Regions from separate parts of the Homo sapiens genome. Here region 2 is linked to region 1. The links are contacts of gene promoters, found by promoter capture Hi-C in human tissues and cell types (Jung and others, 2019). All regions are on one chromosome and are shown on one strand. Each heading gives the region's core, a stretch centred on a gene start or on the middle of the fragment in contact. The rest is flanking DNA. Distances are from core to core; before and after follow the strand shown.

Region 1 (6,665 bases), core at 2,030-4,529:
ACCCTGTCTAGAAAAATACAAAAACAAAAAAAATAAGGTCAGGTGTAGTGGCTCATGCCTGTAATCCCAGCACTTTGAGGAGGCCAAGGTGGGAGGATCACTTGGGCCAAGCAGTTCAAGACCAACCTGAGCAACACAGTGAGACCTGTCTCTACAAAAGTTTTTAAAAATTAGCCAGGCATGGTGGCATGCACCTGTGGTCCCAGCTGCTCAGGAGGCTGAGGTGGGAGGATCACTTGAGCCTGGGAAGTCAAGGCTGCAATGAGCTGTGTTTTCGCCACTACACTTTCACTTTGGTGATCCTGTCTCAAAGTATATATTACTCAAAGAATCATAGACTATTAGAGCTGGAAGGGATCATAGAAGACCTCTACCTCTGTGTTTCCTAAATTATGCTCCACGGAACCTTGAGGTACCTCGTGAAAAAAGGGTTCTGTGGCTAAATGGGTTTGGGACAGGTTGCATACTGTCTCATGCCCTCCTTCCTCTTTGTAGAAGCATGATTCTTCTCACCTTGCTACAGGCTCTGAGAAGGCCTGCAGACAATAAACTTATTTATCATTGTTTGATCCAGTGCTTCCCAATTTACTTGACTTCCCAAAGCTGCTTTAATCATGTGCAGAACATGTTTTAGGAACAAATGATTTATTCCATTGCCTGCATTTTAGTCTTGAAGAAACAAAGTGCCCCCAAAGCCGAGGGCTTTGTCAGCCCTGTGGCCTCAGGAGCTTTCTCTGTACTTCCCCTCACCCCTTCTTTCTCTCTCATGGGGAGCTGGTGCTTTAGACTGAGTGCACCCAGTGTGCAGAGCTGCAGGCCAGGCTGCTGCAAATGTCCCTGGCTGTGATTAGAGCCCACGGTCTTATCAAAGCATCAGGATCCTAAAACACAGAGGAAGGAATTGTATCAGGGAGAAGCACTGGGTCCAGAAGACCCAGAGTCGGCTGAGTCACCATCCGGGTGTGGGACGTGGGTCTGGGGGACAGAGCAGCAAGGGCTGGAGACATGTCACAGCAAGCACCGAGACGCACAGTCAGATGAGTTAAGCAGGTTCACTAATGGCAGGAGAGGTAACAGGCAGAGGGGACTGCAGTTCTCAGCTCCGTTGGGTGGTGGATCTGTTAGCCATGCTGAGTGAGGGACACCAGAAGAAAAGCAGGTTGGGAGGAGGGTAGGGATGGGGCTGCAGGAAGCGGGCTGAATTCCTGAACACAGGTGTGGAGGGTAGAGACCTGCAGAGAATGGGCTTATCTAGGAAAAGAGCAGAGGGAACCCCGTGCCCCAGAGGGCGAACCCAGTGACTGCATGGGCCCTGGGGATAGAGATGGGGCAGGCAGCAATGGCACCCCTCCGCCAGCAGAGGGCCACGGTGTCCGCCATCCAAAGAGAAGTGACACAATGAAGCCCTCAGAGACATTATCTTGCCTTCTGGAACGAAATCCTTGCAACAAAGTTCCCCAACACAGCGCTCAAAGGAGCTGAAGGCGGGCTGAGGGCAGCCAGTGATGACAGAGCCTTCTGGGCCTTTGCTGAGGCGTGCAGTCGCTGACAGCAGGGCAGTTGGGCCTCAGGGATTTCGGGCCAAAACGAGTTTTGGGGATATGTGAAGGAGACAGGGGCAGAGAGAGAGGGTGGGCATCTGCGAACTGGGAAGATTGATGAGGTTGCATGGTTCATAAATAGGAAAGTGGTAACATTCATGATTATTTAAAAATTTCCGTGAAATACTACAGTAAAGGTACAGAAAAGCATATAAAGTAAAAGTGCAGTTTAAGGGATGGCTGCCAAAGGGCACCATTGCAGGAAGGAACAGGCCTGGCACCCCCAAATCCCCCAGGGGCCCTGCTGTGGTCACAGCCCTCTCACCCCCAGCTGTATCCACCATTCTGACACTTAGAGTAAGCACCTTCTTGCCCTTCTGTCAATTATTTACTACTTAATGATGCTTCCCTAAAGAATGCAGTTTAATTTTGCCTGTTTTGGAATTTTTGTGAATGGCTAGATTCCATCCTGTGAATATGAGCACACTGTTTCTCCATCCTGCTCTCCGTGGGTATTCAGTGCCATGCAGTCCAAGCGGTGATGAAGAATGCCATGCACACTCCTACCCAGGTTTCCTGGTGTTCATTACTACACATTTCAGGAGCACGTTTTGTATCGGCAACTTGGTGAAGACTGATGTCCTTTTGAGTTTTCGGAGGAAGTGCTGGTTCTCCTGCCCTTCTTCAGGGCTGTCCTCCGAGACTGCAGAGAACTAGTGACCACCCTGCTGGCTGCGGAGCTCCTGTCAGTCAGAACTCCTGTTTATTCTCCGCCCGGAACAGGGCCTTGCACCCATATGCAGACAGCCGATGCCACGGGGTGAAGGAATGCTCCGGGAAATCTGGGAAAAGGCGACCAGGCACTTTAGATTGTGGGTCAACCTCTGCCTTCTAATCCTCCATCACTTAGGGGAGAAAGGAGGTAGCCACAGGCTGGCTTTTCCAGGAAAGCCTCCGAAAACCAGACGGACCCAGAGGGACCGGACAGAAACGCTCGGAGGTGCACGACGGTCCGAGCAGGCCCCTGACTGCTGGAATGGGCGTGTCCGCTGATCTGATCCCTGATACCAGCTACAGTTTACTAAAAACTTCTTAGATTTTCTCAGTGCTTTAAACGGATTATCTGGGTTCTGGGGCCGCGCCGGGAGGTGGCGGTGTGGTCCTGCGCGAGCGGCCGGCCGCGTTCAAGTTCAAGCTCCGGGCTGGGAGGGAGCTTCCCGACCTCCGTGTTTCTGTAGTAACTTAAAGAGCCAGGCTGGGGGCCGAGGGGCTGAGGGTGGGAGGGTTCTGCGCCCCCCACCGGGGGGCGGCGGGGAAAGCGGGGGCGCGTGGCCTCCCCTCCGGCTCCGGCGGCACAGCCGGGGGGCCCGGCTCCTCCCCGTCGGGAAGACGCGGCTTCTCTGGGTGGCAGTGAAGGGTCCCCGGGGCCGCGCCCGCCCCCGCGCCACACGGGCCGCGCCGCCCTCGGCCCTCGTCCCCGCTCCCGCCCGCGGTTCCCACCGCCCGGCGAGGTCTCCGGGCCCCTCCCCGGGTCCCCGCCCCAGGCCCCGCCAGACCCGGCGCCGCCGCCGCCGCCGCCGCGGACCCCGCCCGCGCGCCCAGCCCCGCTCCCCCCGCGAGCGCGCTCCCGCCGCCGGCCTCGCCTCCCCTCCCCCTCCCTCCTCCTTCCTCCCCCGCCCCTCCCGCTCCCGCTCCCGCCGCCGCCTCCGCCCGCCGCCCCGGCCGCGTCGGGTAAACCTGTTTGGCGAGGCGGCCGCGCCGGGGCGGATCGTGCGGCCGGCGGCTCCCTCGCGGCTCGCGGCGTCGGGGCCCGTGGCGCGCGCGCGGCCGCCCCTCGGCCCCGGAGCCCCTCGGCGGCGCCACCATGTACTCGGGAGCCGGCCCCGGTGAGTCCTGGCGCTCGGGGCGCCCGCCCGGCCGTTCGCGCGCTCCTGCCCGTGGTTGGCGGGCCCGGCGCGGGCGGCAGGGGCCGGGGATCGGGGGGCCGCGGGGTCGGGGCGGCGGGGGCCGGGGGCGGGCGAGCCGGGGCCGCGCTTGGGGGCTCGAGGAGCGGCGGCGGCGGGGCCGAGCCGGCCGTTTTCTCGGCCCCGCGTTGGACGCGCAGCCCCGGCCTCCTCGGCCCCCGCGAGTCGTCGGGGCGCCCCGCGCGGCCTGGGCCCCTCCCGCGCCTCGGGCCCGCGTCCCAGCGTCCTCGCATCCCCCGCCCGGGGCCCGCGGGCTGGGGCCGGGGCCGAGGCGGCCGCCGCGTGTAGGCCCGAGGCCCGGAGCGCCCCGCTTGGCCCGGCCTCGCTGCCCGGGCGGGGATGGGGGCGCCGCAGCCCGGCCCGGCCTGACCCTGAGCGCCTGAGCGGGTGGAGGCCGGGTCGGGGCGCCCGGCTCGGGGCGCGCACGGGCGGGAGGGGAGGGGGCTGCGCCGGTCCCGACCCCAGCCGCGGTGAGTCTGTGGCGCGCTCCGTTGTGGCCCTTCTTGTTGCCGGCACTTCTTCGGCCCCTTTTCCCAAGGAAAGTCTGGAAATGCTGAATTTTGGCCAATTCCTGTAGTTAGGGCTGTCGCCTGGAAAGGGGAGGACGCGGCTCCCCGGAACCCTCAAACTGCGTGCGCGGCTCGTTCTCATTCCAGACACGCCGGCCTCCCCATTCAAGTGCTAATTCCTTTTACAATTTCCTAGGAGAGGTGAGGCGAGGTGGATTCCTGTAGCACCCCTTGTTGCTAGTCGGCCTTTCTCTGGAAAAGTTCTAAAAAACTTAAAGCGGTAACGCGTTGTTTTTCTTTTTAAATGCAGAGTAGAAGGCGGTCTCCTTGGTGGGCCAAAAAAACGGTCAGGTGTTCTCCTGCTTTTGGCGTGCTCCCACCGGGCACGTGGCTCCTGGCTCTCTCGGCCGGCCTGGCCGCTGGGACGGGGCACCGCCTGCTCCCCTTTGTCCGCTGGGCCCCAGCCGGGCCGCAGGCGGCGCAGGCCCCGCCGGGCTCTGGGCTTATGTTTACCCGGCCGGGCGAGGAGGCTCGCATTCCCGATGCTGCCCTCGTTGCTGCAGACCGGCCCCAAATTGTGGGGTCCGGAAGGCCCCCTGGCCCACCTTGGTCCGTTGATGGTGGCCCCCACTGCTGGAGCTGTTGGCTCTGTGCCTTGCGAATGTCGCGTCTTTTTTCTGATGTCATTTAGAAAGCTTCAACAAGGCGGAGTCTGACCAACTTTTCAACCCCTGAGGGCCATCAGCAGTTTGAAGAATGATTTTCCCCCTCCACCTGGGAGGGGCCGCAGTCCTGGAGCAGGTGCTGGCCTCTAGAGGCCTTGGGTGGCCAGGCCCCCTCTTGGGAAAGGACCGGGCATCCCCTTGTGAGTTGGGACCTTCCAGCTCCTCTTTGTAGAGGAACCCAGCTTATGGGACTGACAGCACTACATTTTTTCAGGTTATCGGTTTTAAAAGTTGGAGGCCCAGAAAAAGTGAAGAGGCTTTAAGGAAGGTCAAGCTTTCTGTGTTGTGTTTTGCGTGTTACTTAATTCACTCCACTTGCTGAGGTTGGTGGTGTTTGTGAAGACAGACAGCCGAGGCTCACAGAGGTTGAGAACTTCACCAAGGTCACACAGCAGTGAGTGAGTATCAGGACAATCGGTCCGACTTCCGAGCTGGTTCTCTGGGTGCCTTCCTCAGGGCAGTCCCTTTCAAGCCCTATAACCCAGACCCACAGTAAGAAGTCTCTGTTAGGGCTGGACTGGACCAGCACCTGCCCGCATACTTGTCATTGACAGCGGGGCTTCAGGAAGCCACCCCAGCTCACTGCTGTACTGTGTGCACTGCCCCGGGATGCTGTCTTGTCGATTTCATTTTTCAGCGTACCTTGGCCCTCATGATCCACAGGCTCGTTTCTGTCACTCGCTGCTTTTTGGAGATTGTTGCCTTGGTGTGGGCCTGGTAGGGAGTGGACCCTCTGGAACAGGACAGTGGTTGAAAGAATAAATGTGTCTGCAGGATAATTCATAGCTAATGGCAGGATGGGAATGAACCCAAGTTTCAGGTTGTACAAACGTGCTGTAATTATAAGTCTGTGGTGCAGTTCCATTTTATGCTACACATTAAGGCTTTTAATTTTGTGTAAAAGGAATTTTTGGAATAGTCTTCATTGAGACTCTTTTTAATCTTATACTTTCTAATTTAGAATTATAAGACATTCAATTTGAATTATAGAAAAATTACATTGGGAGGCCAAGGCGGGCGGATCACGAGGTCAAGAGATCGAGACCATCCTGGCCAACATCATGAAACCCCGTCTCTACTAAAAATACAAAAATTAGCTGGGCGTGGTGGTGCACGCCTGTAGTCCCAGCTACTCGGGAGGCTGAGGCAGGAGAATCGCTTGAACCCTTGAGGCAGAGGTTGCAGTGAGCCAAGATTGCGCCACTGCACTCCAGCCTGGGGACAGAGTGAGACTTGGAGACTCCATCTCAAGAAAAAAAAAAAAAAGAAAAGAAAAATTACAAATAGTTTTGCTACTTCCAATTGTAACACCCTTATTAGGCAACTTACTAATTTAAAAAGCAGTTCACAATAGCTCTACATTATACCAATCACAAACAAATGCTGTGACGTATGTGAATGCTATTTAGAATCTGAAGTTAGAAATGTTACTATTTTTTCGTTTTTTGAACTGAGTTAGTTGTTTAAGATGGGTGGATTCTCCAATGACCTTGAACCTTCACTGATGAACAAATTAGTTTTTTGGTTTTTTAACCATTTAAAGGTCTTGATCTGTGTCTAGTGATTGCCTGCCCCCAGGATATTGTCTCTTATGGTTTTGCTACACTTTCAAGCTCCCGTGTGTTACACCCCTCGCAGATTTGCCACAAAGTAACCTCTGTGACATCTAAGACTTGACAGTTGTCTAAATAGGATTGTGACTTTGAGAAGAGCTGAACTTCACTGTGGTTTATAGAGCCATTTAACTCCTCCTGCCCCCTCTCCCCCTTCCCTCAGTGGTCCCCATGAAGGTATGGCCACTTCTCCCAATACTGGTGCCCATCTGCCATGGCAGGATATCACCCTCTACCCGTGGGGCAGTTGACATGGCCGAGGCCATCGCGGCATGGCTGGGTATTTGTGCAGAGTCCCCCTTGGGTCTTTGAT
Region 2 (6,006 bases), core at 2,747-5,246, 530 kb before region 1:
CACCCCGCCCTGCCTGGCTGGTGCAGCATCTCAGCGTCCCCGAAGCACGGCACAGGGAGTGACCACAGAGCATCTGAGCTCACCCTCATCGGACTCCACAACTGGGACCAGTGAGGCCACGATCTGATGGCTTCTGAGCTCACCCTTATCAGACTCAACAACAGGGATCAGTGAGCGCACAATCTGATGGCTTCACCACGCAGGGAGAGGTACAGCGCGCGCACACACGCACACTCGCACACATATACACACATACACATTTTCACACCCACACACATTCATATACACACATACACACTCATACACACACTCGGCCATGACATCCCTCAGAGCCCACGGGCACGATAAGCAAGGAAACTGCATTCCGCAGCGCTTGTTTCACAGCCGGAAGAGAGACCTGCCGGGCCTCTGTCACCAGGACAGCTTTTCCCAAGGGCCTGAAGAGCCCTACACATCCCTAAGGAAAGGACAAGCAGCCCAAGATAAAAATGGGCAAAGACCATGACAACACAGCTCACAGAAAAGAAACCAGAACTGCTTCCAAGCACGTGCACTGTTTGTGACGTCAGTGTGGCATCCTTGCAGGCTCACAACGGGCGAGAGTCGAGACTGAGGAATGTGTGCTGCCTGGGAGCATGGAGGCGCGGCCCCCGCCAAGCCCGACTGACGGTTCTCACATCTCAAAGCAGGCCTTGGGTACACATCTCAGAGGAACTGACCCACACATACTCCAGGAAACAGGTGCGACACCACTGATGGTGAAACAGGTGGACAAATGGTGCCCACACACTACATACAGCACAGGCAGTGGTTGAAGTGAATGAACCCAACGGATGTGGAGCAACACAGATACGTCTTGAAAACACCATGAGTAAAACAGCACGTGCAAACTCAGACATACGGTGTGACAATTCCCATTCTCCCATTTTTGTGTTTAAACTCACGACCACTAGGTACCGCGTCAGGTGCATCCATTTGTAGTAAATGCATAAAAACATGGCCAGAAAAGAAAGCTCCAGCTTCGGACAGTGGCTCCCTCTGGGGAGGGAGGGAGAGAGGCACACGGAGCCCCCGCTGGGTCTAAGCACAAGCCCACTGCACTCCATGGGAAACGCAGCAGGTGTTAGTCTGGGCGCAGGACCCTGGCATTTGTCCCACGTCCCCGCTTTTGCATGTGTCTGCAGCATTTCAGCCGAGGCCATGGTTCTGTGCAGATGCTGAGCAATTCTCCCGGACAAGGAGCGTCTTCATCTCCCATCAGCAATTCTAGGTCCCTTCCACCCACACAGAGCGCAGCTCAGAGCCCAGCCTGGAGACAGGCTGTGTAAGATCTCAGGACAGGCACATTGCCTAAGGGCCCCGCCAACCACACCCGTTCCCAGGTAAGTGCCCAGGGCAACTGTAAAGACCACGGTGCTGCAGCGGTCTTGCCTGCCACCTGCTGGCGGCTTACCTCACCACTGCTGTTACCTGACCACTGTCGTTAAGCATTTAAAATATATAGGGTCAGGCGCGGTGGCTCACGCCTGTAATCCCAGCACTTTGGGGGGCCAAGACAGGTGGATCACCTTGAGGTCAGGAGTTTGAGACCAGCCTGGCCAACATGGTGAAACCCTGTCTCTACAAAAATACAAAAATTAGCTGGGTGTGGAGGCGCATGCCTATAATCCCAGCTACTCAGGAGGTTAAGACAGGAGAATCACTTGAACCCAGGAGGCAGAGGTTGCAGTGAGCCAAGATCGTGCCATTGTACTCCAACCTGGGAGACAGAGCAAGACTCCATCTCATAAATAAAGTAAAATAAAATATATGGGCCCAACGCAGAGGCTCACTCTTGTAATCTCAGCACTTAGGGAGGCCGAGGTGGGTGGATCACTTGAGCCCAGGAGTTCGAGACCAGCCTGGGCAACATACTGAAACCCTGTCTCTACAAAAAATACTAAAATTAGCCGGGCACGGTGTCGCGTACCTGTAGTCTAGTCCCAGCTACTCGGGAGGCTGAGGTGGGAGGACTGCTTGAGCCCAGGAGGTGGAGGTTGCAGTGAGCTGTGATTGCCAGTCCACTCCAGCCTGGGCGACAGAGCCAGACCCTGTCTCTAAATAATAAAATCTGTGATGGTGCCAGGCCTCCTCTTACCTACAGTCAAGGCCTCGAACAGCCGGTGTATGATGCTGGCGTCCTTCACGATCCCTGACTCCTGGACCCGCTTCATGAAGTCGCCCAGCTGCATGTGCTTCTTGGGCAGCTTGAACTTCTTCACGTGGTCGTCCAGCTTCGAGGCCTCGTGCGGCTTGTCCAGGATCTCGCTGATGAGCCTCATCAGCTCCGGCGCCTGCTCAGCCCCCTCCCACTCAGGGGCAGACATGGATTCCACCGTCCTCTTCACCAAATCAGTGGGAAAGATCCGTATGTCTGTTTTATACAGATTCTGGAAGTCCAAGAGGGCGTTCAGCAGCTGTCCCTGCATCAGATAAACGAGCCCTCGGAGGTACAAATAGCGGGCCAGGAGCAGAGAGTTATCGGGGGCCAGAAAGCACATGGCCTCGCTCAGCATGGAGACAAAGTGGGCATGGTATGCCTGCACGCACTTGCTCTCCAGCGGAAAGTGGATTTCGGGAATCTTGAATGTATACGGGGACTTCGGCGTGACATTCAGAACTAAAACATTCAGGGGGAAAAGGAGACCATTAGCACAGACCTTCCAAATGAACACGTGTCCCTGTCACATCATCTTGTCAAGGACAATGTTTCTCTGGATGCAAAATAAAATGAGAATGGGTGTGCTCCCTCCAGAAAGCTCCACACACCCACCCCCCTGGGAGGCATGAGAGAACCCTCACTTTGCTTCCATGGTACCCCAAGGAGAATAGCAGCTAGCATTCACTGAACAATTTGGTTTGCTACAACTAGTAATACTACTGAGGTATCGGGTACTGAGGCTTTATTTGAGGATGAAGCTAATAGCCTAAGCCAAGATGTACCTGCTAGGCAGGATGAAGCCCTTTAGAACCATTGTTTCATTTACCTTAAAGACAACTCAGGACAGGGGTATTATTACTATAGTCCCGTTCTACAGATGCGGAAACCGAGGCTTCCACAGCCTGGGTTACTTGTCCCAGGTACACAGCGACTAAGTGCCTGAGCCACACTTCAACCAGGTGTGTGTCTCACACCAACTCCTTCTATAGATGTTACCTAAGGGCCCTCCAGGAGCTAGGCACCAACTGGGTGCTGGGTTTCCTCTTCTCCCAGGAGCTCCAGAGGACCAAGAGAGCAGGAGGAGGGTCATGGGGGCTCCAGGGGAAGGTTCCGAGGGCAGGGAAAGCGGAGCATGCTCCCAGGGTGAGTGGGCACAGGGCACCTGCCAGCGGCAGACTGACAGATGTTCAGAAGAGGAACTGCAGAACCAGGGAGGTGAAGCTGCCTGCCCAGGGTCACACAGCCAGGGGCAGAAGGCTCGGACCCCACAGTGGCCTCCAGAATGTTCGCTCTGAGCTCCAGCGCTCAGCCGATAAAGACAACGTGGTCTGTCATTCATGCGCACTGCCCCTGCTAGACCATAGCCCTCGGGGTCATCAAGGTGTCACTCGTGCAGCTCCTGGGGTCCCAGCACAGTGATCAGGAGGAGCCACATGGTACTTGCTGCCTGGGCCCGAGACAGCAGCAGCAGGTGCCCTGGGGGTCAAGGCCCCGGCCTCCCGACAGTTTCTCCCATTCACTAGGGACAGGACGTACCTCCCCAAGAAGGCGCGAGGCTGGGCTTGGCCTCTCCATGCAGTCCCATCTCTGTGGAAATGTCCCAACCACAGTCAAGCCCCCTCCCCATCCCTGGCCCTGCTCACTTTAGCCCTGGCCCTGGAATGCCAGCTCCACGAGGGCAGGGGCACTGGGCTCCTTCACAGCTCCGGCTCTAGAAAGTGCCTGGTGCGCTCCCTGCCTCCTATCACACGTGTGGATGTGTAAATATGTATTTATACACATGCAATCCACACATACAGAGACAGGCACAGCCTACACCTGTGAAGGATGCCGAACCATGCCGAGCCCCCGTTATCTTTAGCGGTGACACTGGGTGGCAGAAAATACAGACGAGAAATAATTTTCTAGAAGGCATACCTTGGCAAAATGAATATTCTAAACATTTCAAATAACTCAGCTGCTAAAACAAGCCCACTCGTCTCTCCTGAAACAAGTCCCAGTTTTGCTCAATGACTTGCAGGTGCAGGAATGGTGGGACCGACACACAGCACCACAGTGGGGGGCAGCCCTCACCTGCGCTGCTGCCCCTACAGCCTGCGGTGTCCGTCAGCCGGAGCGAGGAGTTCCTGGGTGCCAGCTCAGGCATGGCAATGTCCTGCAGGTTGGGCATGCTGACCACCATGCGCCTGTGGGTGACATGCAGGTGCGAGGACTTCCGGGAGGCTCTTTTCTCAACGGTCGGTCTCCTTGGACTTAGAAGCATTCCATTTATTCTGGGGTACGAAAAAGCAACGCGTTAGTTTATAGACACAATAATGATTGAAGAATAAGCCTAAACTAAGCATTTTTCCCAGTGTGATGAAGAGCACATGACACTCTTGGACACCAGTGGAAAACAGACTGGTAAGAACATGTTGCCCAAATCTCACCAAGTGCAGCCTCAGGGGGACCCAGACACAAGCCCAGAAGAAACCAGCATAAGCCAACAGGGGCCCTGACTGCAGCAGACACATGTTGGAGGGGGCTCAGGAAGAGAGCAAGGAAGAGATGGAAAACAGCAGGCTTTGAGGATGGGGGGAGGTGGGAAGAGAGAAAGGAGATGAGAGAGAGCAGCACCGAGGAAGACGCAAGGGCCACAAACCACGGGGAGCATGCTAACATCGGGCACGTTTCAAGTGTTCCCTCAAGAAGTAGAAACAGGCCAGGAGTGGTGGCTCATGCCTGTAATCCCAGCACTTTGGGAGGCTGAGGTGGGTGGATCACCTGAGGTCAGGAGTTCAAGACCAGCCTGGCCAACATGGCGAAACCCCATCTTTACAAAAATACAAAAATTAGCCGGGCATGATGGTGGGTGCCTGTAATCCCAGCTACTCAGGAGGCTGAGGCAGGAGAATTGCTTGAACCCAGGAGGCGGAGGTTGCAGTGAGCGGAGATTGAGCTACTGCACTCCAGCCTGGGCAACAAGAGCGAGACTCCGTCTCAAAAAAAAAAAAAAAAAGAAGAAGTAGAAACATGGAGAGAAGAGCTTCCTAGCTGTCGCCCAGTTCATCATGAGTTTCTAAGCACAAGGTATTTCCCATTGACTTTCTCATTTACTCATTCGAATAAAACTGAGGTCCTTGAACACTGTGATTCCTAAAGAGCTGCAGATCCAAAACACAACAGTGAAGCACCTGTCCTCCTCCGACTGGGTGTCGAGGTCCATCTGAGCAAAGGCGTCCATCCTCCTATTGAGCCGGGCTTTAAGAAAAGAATGGAACATGTAGGTGTCTAAGACCTGGAAAAGAGAGAGGGGCTGGTCACTGGGCTGTGCCGACTCCCCAGGTCCCTGCTCCAAAGCCCCTGAGCCTTCCTGGCACAGAACTGGGCATCACCACTCACACCCAGTGGATATTGACTGAGTGAATGAACTCGAGGGTTTTCTGCTCTTCCTCATTCACACAGGAGAAGAAATGGCTGCCATACATTCACACACTGGGTCCCACATACCCACCCCATGAACAAAAGAGTATTTCATCATAGCTACAAGAGGTGGACACAAGCTTCTGGCCATAAGGCAGTAGACAAGGCTCAGACATATCCTCCTGACATAAACTATGAGGAAACTCGATAAAAAAGAGGAAACGACTGTTTTCAGATGCTGGACGAGAGGCAGGCTCGTGGCTGGCGCAGCTCCAGCACTGAGGGCATGGAGGGAGCTCACAGAGGCTGAGGCAGCTGGAAGCCTCGGGCAGGGCTCTGGAGAGGAGGGAATGATACAGGGAGCTCCCGGAGCCTGCATCAGGGTCTCCCTAAGCCTTTGCTGA

What was found. Contacts are between HindIII fragments. The study calls those that stand out against the background at their distance.
Region 2: a contact is called between a fragment that was not itself captured here and the fragment with the promoter of AGO2 in region 1, in 1 of the 25 tissues and cell types used here (mesenchymal stem cells).

The regions. Positions count from the first base shown.
Region 1 is chr8:140,632,247-140,638,911 of GRCh38, reverse strand. It overlaps AGO2 (argonaute RISC catalytic component 2), which reads left to right and starts at 3,279. Exons shown (of 19, transcript NM_012154.5): 1 at 3,279-3,427. The coding sequence starts at 3,406. It overlaps ERICD (E2F1-regulated inhibitor of cell death), which reads right to left and starts at 4,677. Exons shown (of 1, transcript NR_170171.1): 1 at 629-4,677. RefSeq lists silencers at 2,715-3,114, 3,765-3,934, 4,418-4,467 and enhancers at 4,274-5,040, 5,041-5,808. The HindIII fragment of the contact is 25,430 bases long and covers 1-4,861 here.
Region 2 is chr8:141,164,657-141,170,662 of GRCh38, reverse strand. It overlaps DENND3 (DENN domain containing 3), which reads right to left. Exons shown (of 23, transcript NM_001352890.3): 11 at 5,374-5,477; 12 at 4,274-4,473; 13 at 2,138-2,659. Among named protein-coding and RNA genes, the nearest start is that of DENND3-AS1, 38 kb to the right of the region's middle. RefSeq lists a silencer at 5,719-6,006. The HindIII fragment of the contact is 7,482 bases long and covers 256-6,006 here.